Regions from separate parts of the Homo sapiens genome. Here region 2 is linked to region 1. The links are contacts of gene promoters, found by promoter capture Hi-C in blood cells and fetal thymus (Javierre and others, 2016). All regions are on one chromosome and are shown on one strand. The core of a region is centred on a gene start or on the middle of the fragment in contact, and the rest is flanking DNA. Distances in the headings are between cores, read along the strand shown.

Evidence for each region. The method cuts DNA at HindIII sites, captures the fragments that hold promoters and counts their contacts. A CHiCAGO score of 5 or more calls a contact.
Region 2: the fragment with the promoter of PDXP here is called in contact with the fragment with the promoter of JOSD1 in region 1 in 1 of 17 cell types (fetal thymus); the score reaches 8.3 in fetal thymus.

What each region holds. Positions count from the first base shown.
Region 1 is chr22:38,699,468-38,702,402 of GRCh38, forward strand. It overlaps JOSD1 (Josephin domain containing 1), which reads right to left and starts at 1,476. Exons shown (of 5, transcript NM_001360236.2): 1 at 1,333-1,476; 2 at 336-1,151. The coding sequence starts at 520. RefSeq lists a silencer at 983-1,942. The HindIII fragment of the contact is 4,284 bases long and covers 587-2,935 here.
Region 2 is chr22:37,657,278-37,660,212 of GRCh38, forward strand. It overlaps PDXP (pyridoxal phosphatase), which reads left to right and starts at 1,446. Exons shown (of 2, transcript NM_020315.5): 1 at 1,446-2,079. The coding sequence starts at 1,506. PDXP-DT (PDXP divergent transcript) reads right to left here and starts at 1,100. Exons shown (of 6, transcript NR_109952.1): 1 at 978-1,100. RefSeq lists enhancers at 1,003-1,072, 1,083-1,132, 1,321-1,822, 2,649-2,935 and silencers at 1,323-1,632, 1,833-1,942. The HindIII fragment of the contact is 9,798 bases long and covers 1,097-2,935 here.

The DNA of each region.
Region 1 (2,935 bases), core at 226-2,725:
ACCCCAGCTCCAAGTCTTGTTATCTTGGGCGAGGTACTGAACTAAATGTGTCTTCATCAGTAAAATGGAAATAACATCACATATTAACACGTATTCCACGGGACTGTTGAAGATCACTCAAGAAAACACAGCTGAGGCTATGAGTACTTTCCTAGCCCACCGTAAGTGCCTGATAAATGGTAGTGATTATCTTTTCATGTCTTGTGTCCCTTATACCTGCTAACGCAATCTAGCTAATACCTACAGCTTTGAAGGTTTATGAAGCTGAGACACTGCCCCACCCACAGAAATCCAGAAATATCAGTATCAAGATGCCAAGGAGAAGGGTCCCCTACCTCTGGAAAATCTCTTGCAGCGTATCCCGGGTGAAGGCATTGCTGTCCTGGAAGACGTTATTGAGGGCGTGGAGGGCACAAAGCTCCCTGCGCTGTTTCTCATGGTAGATTTGTGGGGGTGCTGCCTGGGGCAGCTCCAATGATTCAGATTTGGCCTTGTCTCCTTTCCATGGCACACAACTCATGTTTTTTGTTTTAGGTTCCAGAGATGGCTATAAACACCCCACTCTTCCCTCTAGAGGAAGAATGTAAGCTTCTCAGTCTTTTCCGGATTCCTGAGGTCCACCTTATTCTCTGGTGTCCATGATTTATGCTTTGTCACTGGGAGAAAAGATTGGAATCAAAAGGAAAAAAATAAAACCCACCTCTTCTCTCTTCTCAATAGAAAAATAACTTTTGGATTACTTTTATTTTGCTACCACTGTCAAAGTGCAGAATTTAAAAAAACACATAAAATGTAAGACCTTGTTTCCGTTTCCCCACCCTTCCCTCCCACCCCCCTCCAAAATCCCCACGATTTTCTTGCTGTTTCCCTCTGCAAATGCCAGGCCTCAAAGCAGGAGGACCGAACACAATCGGTCACATCGCTCCTTTTCTTCCATTTCTTTTGAACCACGACGCCAATGACTCGGGAGACAAGGCCTGGGTGACGGATAAATTTAGCGCACGAGTCGAGTAGCTAGCGCGGGCCGGCAGGCGTGGGACCGCGAGCCGCGCGGGGGCCTCGGGGGCAGCCCTCCATCCCCTCGGGTACGGTGGGGCCCGCAGGGCGCGGCTCCCTCGGAAGGCGCGGATTCTAGCCCTCTGGCCGCGGCCCTGCGGAGGAGGAGACAACTCCGGTCAGCGGCGAGCGGGCGCGGGAAGTGAGCGGCGGGGCCGGCCCCTGCCCGAGGGAAGGTTCCGCGCGGCGAAGGGCTGGCCCGCGAGGGGTGGGGCCGGACAGTCAGCCTCGCGCTCCCGGGCCCGCGCCCACCCGGCTCGCAGCCCCTACACAAACCTCCCCGCCCGTCACGTGAGCGCAGGCCCAGACGCCCTCCCGCCGCGCCCCCGGCCGCAGACCCCAGGGCCGCCGGGACTGCTCGCCGCTGGCGGTCCCCTCACCGCAGCCGGCCGCCACCTGGAGTGCGCGCCGCCAACTGGGCCGTGCGGGCGGGCGCGCGCACCTGAGCCCGACGTCAGCGGCCCCCGCCCGGCGCGTGCTCCGGAAACGCCCTCCCGCGCCGTCCTCACTCCTCCCAGCCGTGGCGTCACGCCTGACGTAAGTCTGACGTCATCGGCACCGGCCTGGGAGCCGCAGACGCCGGGCGTGTAGGGGCGCAGTTCAACGGTTGGGGTGTTGCAAAGGCCGTGGGTGTGGGGCTGCGGGCTGCGCACCTCGGCGGCGGCCGGCAGGGTTGGGGTCCAGCCGCTCCGCTCGGCGCGGCCCCTGGCGGGGCGGCCTGAGGGAGTCCTACCTGGACGCCAGCCTGCCCTTCTCCCGGGCGTGGGCGTTGTTTCGGGGCGGCAGCCAGGCCAGCGGCTGCAGTCCGCGGCTTTCAGCACCCCTCCCTTCTCTGTGCCGGGCTTTTCGGCCGAACGTTCTCGCTCCTTCTGCGTTGACTGTTTTATGTGTGGTTAACGCGCGGCTCACCAGGGGGGATTTTGAAGCACCTGATTCGGTCGGGCGCAAATTGCCTTGGTTAGTGGGCCCGACCGTGCCGCACTGTCCAGGGAGCGTCAAGGGTAGGTGTCTCGCTGGGAGTCACATTTCAAGTGGAAAGGAGAATCCTGTTGCAGTTCCTTGGTGTCGCATTTCGGTTCACTACACACAAGCCACTGCCTTCTTGCCTGGGGGCTCCCCGCTCTTCTCACGGTGGCTTTCCTCTCTGCAGAGACCTCTGCGCGAGGTATACCTAAGCGCATTGTGTGCGTCTTCGGGAAAAGGCGAAAACTACTCGCAGTCCCACGTGGATTTCATTTTTTCCCCTTTACCTACTCTTAGGGTGCGTGGTAGGCATCATTATCCACCTTAGCTGCCCTTCTTTTGGGTTTTCTGTAAAACTGGAAAAACGAGAAGAAACTGTTGCACTTCAAATTTAGTTGTTTTGTTTTGTTTTTTGGAGACGGAGTTTCGCTCTTGTTGCCCAGACTGGAGTGCAATGGCATGATCTCCGCTCACCGCAACGTCCGCCTCCCGGGTTCAAGCAATTCTCCTGCCTCAGCCTCCCGAGTAGCTGGGATTGCAGGCATGCGCCACCACGCCCGGCTAATTTTGTGTGTTTAGTAGAGGGGTTTCTTCATGTTGGTCAGGCTGGTCTCGAACTCCCGACCTCAGGTGATCCACCCGCCTTGGCCTCCCAAGGTGTTGGGATTACAGAAGTGAGCCACCGTGCCCGGCCTTTTTTTTTTTTTTTTTTTTTAAGATGGAGTTTAACTTTTGTCGCCCAGGCTGAATTGCAACGGGGCGATCTCGGCTTACTGCAACCTTCACCTCCTGGACTCAAGCGATTCTCATGTCTCAGCCTCCCGCGTAGCTGGGATTACAGGCTCCTGCCACTACGCACGGCTAATTTTTGTATTTTTAGTAGAGACGGGGTTTCACCATGTTGGCCAGGCTGGTC
Region 2 (2,935 bases), core at 196-2,695, 1.0 Mb before region 1:
CTCCTGGGTTCAAGCAATTCTCCTGCCTCAGCCTCCCGAGTAGCTGGGACTACAGGCACCCGCCACCACGCCTAGCTAATTTTTTTCTTTTTTTTTTTTTTTTTTTTTGTATTTTTAGTAGAGACGGGGTTTCACCGTAGCCAGGATGGTCTCGATCTCCTGACCTCGTGATCCGCCCACCTCAGCCTCCCAAAGTGCTGGGATTACAGGCGTGAGCCACCGAGCCCGGCCCTGAAGGTGAAATTTTTAAAGGAAAAAGGAACATTCAGGCCAAGGAGACTATCTATGCAAAGGCCAGGAGCAAAAGGCTTAGGGCACTTGGGGAATAGGAGCTAGTTGAGCTTCCAAGGTTGGGTACAAGGTACAGTTTTTCCCAAGTCGTTGGAGCTCCAGTTGCTCCTGGGGGTCACAGCCTTATCTGAAGTTGGCAGACAACTTCAAAACTGTGACACCACAGCTCACAATTCATTCATCCCCACACTGCAGACCAGTGGCTCCTCAAAGGTCCCAAGACCTGTGGTTGCTTCCAGATCACAAGGCCTCCTCCCTAAGACAGGGACCCAGCCAACCTGGGTCACCCCATTACTATTCTGGGCAATTGGCCACGACCATTCTGGATCCTGCCCTCCCGGGGCGTGCTGCAGTGACAGCCTACCAGCCTCTAGCCCAGTGCTTCCCTACCCTATCCTAGCTCACGGTAGAATCCCTGGAATTAAACCAACTAACCAACAAACCAAAAAATGCCCAGTCTTCACCCAAAACACTTACATGAGGATCTGTCCTGCTACACATCGGTGATTTCAAAAGCATTTGTCAAGACATTGAACTGTACATTTAAGATCTATGCATTTTACTATATGTAAATGATATCTGAAAATAAGTTCCCAGGGGACTCTAACGCAGTGTGAAGAACTACTGGTCTAGACCGAGGGCTCCAGCACCCAAGAAGACACCATGTGCCTCGTACCCCATCGTACACACACGTTTCTTGGGACTTCGCTCTGAACTGGAGCGTCCACGATTCAGGGGGCAATGAGATTCGACCCAAAGGCAGTTCATTTAACATCTGTTTTTCTCCCAGCAACCAGCTCGCCTAAGCTTCTGATTGGCTGGAGGGCACGGGGCCTTTCGCTTCGCGTTTTGTTTGTAGATTCTTATTGGTTAAGAAGAGCGTCAGTCTCCCACCGCGTAAGAGTGTAGTCGGCGTTGAAACTCGGCGGCGACTGGTCCAGCAGAACCAGGGACGGGGAGAAGGATCAAGCTAGCTCTTCATTGGTCCCTTCCCCTCGGTGTTGGCCACGAATCCGCCCCTCTCTCCAAGTTCCGTTAGCTCGCGGCTTCGCTCCTCTCCCAGACTCTCGCCCCCATTGGCTGCAGGCCACGCCGTCGCCCCGCCCCCCGGTCCTTCCAGCGCGCCAATTGGCGGCTGCGTGGAACGTGCCAGGGAGAGCGCGCCGTGCCCGCGGAGAGAGCGCGGCGCGGGAGGCCGGCGGCCGGCCGGCTGCATGGCGCGCTGCGAGAGGCTGCGCGGAGCGGCCCTGCGCGACGTGCTGGGCCGGGCGCAGGGGGTCCTGTTCGACTGTGACGGGGTGCTGTGGAACGGCGAGCGCGCCGTGCCGGGCGCCCCGGAGCTGCTGGAGCGGCTGGCGCGGGCCGGCAAGGCGGCTCTGTTTGTGAGCAACAACAGCCGGCGCGCGCGGCCCGAGCTGGCCCTGCGCTTCGCGCGCCTCGGCTTCGGGGGGCTGCGCGCCGAGCAGCTCTTCAGCTCCGCGCTGTGCGCCGCGCGCCTGCTGCGCCAGCGCCTGCCCGGGCCTCCGGACGCGCCGGGCGCCGTGTTCGTGCTGGGCGGCGAGGGGCTGCGCGCCGAGCTGCGCGCCGCGGGGCTGCGCCTGGCCGGGGACCCGAGCGCGGGGGACGGCGCGGCCCCGCGCGTGCGCGCCGTGCTTGTGGGCTACGACGAGCACTTCTCCTTCGCCAAGCTGAGGGAGGCGTGCGCGCACCTGCGCGACCCCGAGTGCCTACTCGTGGCCACCGACCGTGACCCATGGCACCCGCTGAGCGACGGCAGCCGGACCCCTGGTGAGCGCGGGAATGGCGGGGAAACTGAGATGGGGGCGACCTGCGCATTCGCCTCCACGCCTAAGGGTGAGGGGCGGGGAAGAGGCGTCTCCAGGTGGCAGGTGGGGAACAGGAGAGTGCGAGGGAGGCCCAGGGTGCTTTGGTGTGGGGGGCGGTTGATCCCTGTAGCCGTCATCCTGTGAGGCGCAGCAGTGTGGTCCCTGTTGGACAGATGAGGAAACTGAGGCCCTTTGTAACTTAGGGAGTTGGGCGGAATTCTGCCCTACCCACCATCGGGGTGGGGTTGGAGAGGAAGCCTGGGAGGATTGTCCCCCTGTGTGAGGGTTGAAACACCATTCCCAGAGGCAGGGTGTAGGCAGGTGTGTGGGGAGCAAAGGCGGTGGAGTTTGACCTCAGTTCCAGGTCCAGCTCCAGCTTCACAGCTGTGTAATCGTGTTCAGTTACATAACCTCCAAGCATCTCTGCCTGGGTGAGAAATGGCAGTGCTCAGCATGCCCGGTGACGGTGATCAGGGTGAGTGCCTGGCACATAGTAGGTGTTCAGATGATGTAAGTTGTAGCCAGAGTCCCCCATGTTACAGAGAACTTAATGAAACAGCTTTGTGTGTGTTCTTCTTTGGTTTCCAAATTACTCTGGAGATGGAAGTTATTGTCCCATTTCTCAAGTAAAGAGACTGAGGCAGCCGGATGCAGTGGCAACAGCCTGTAGTCCCAGCTACTCGAGAGGCTGAGGCGGGAGGATTGCTTGAGCCTAGGAGGTCAAGGCTGTAGCGTGCTATCATTGCATCTGTGAAAAGCCACTGTACTTCAGCATGGGCAACATAGTGAGACCTTATCTCTAAAAGAAGAGGAAAGAA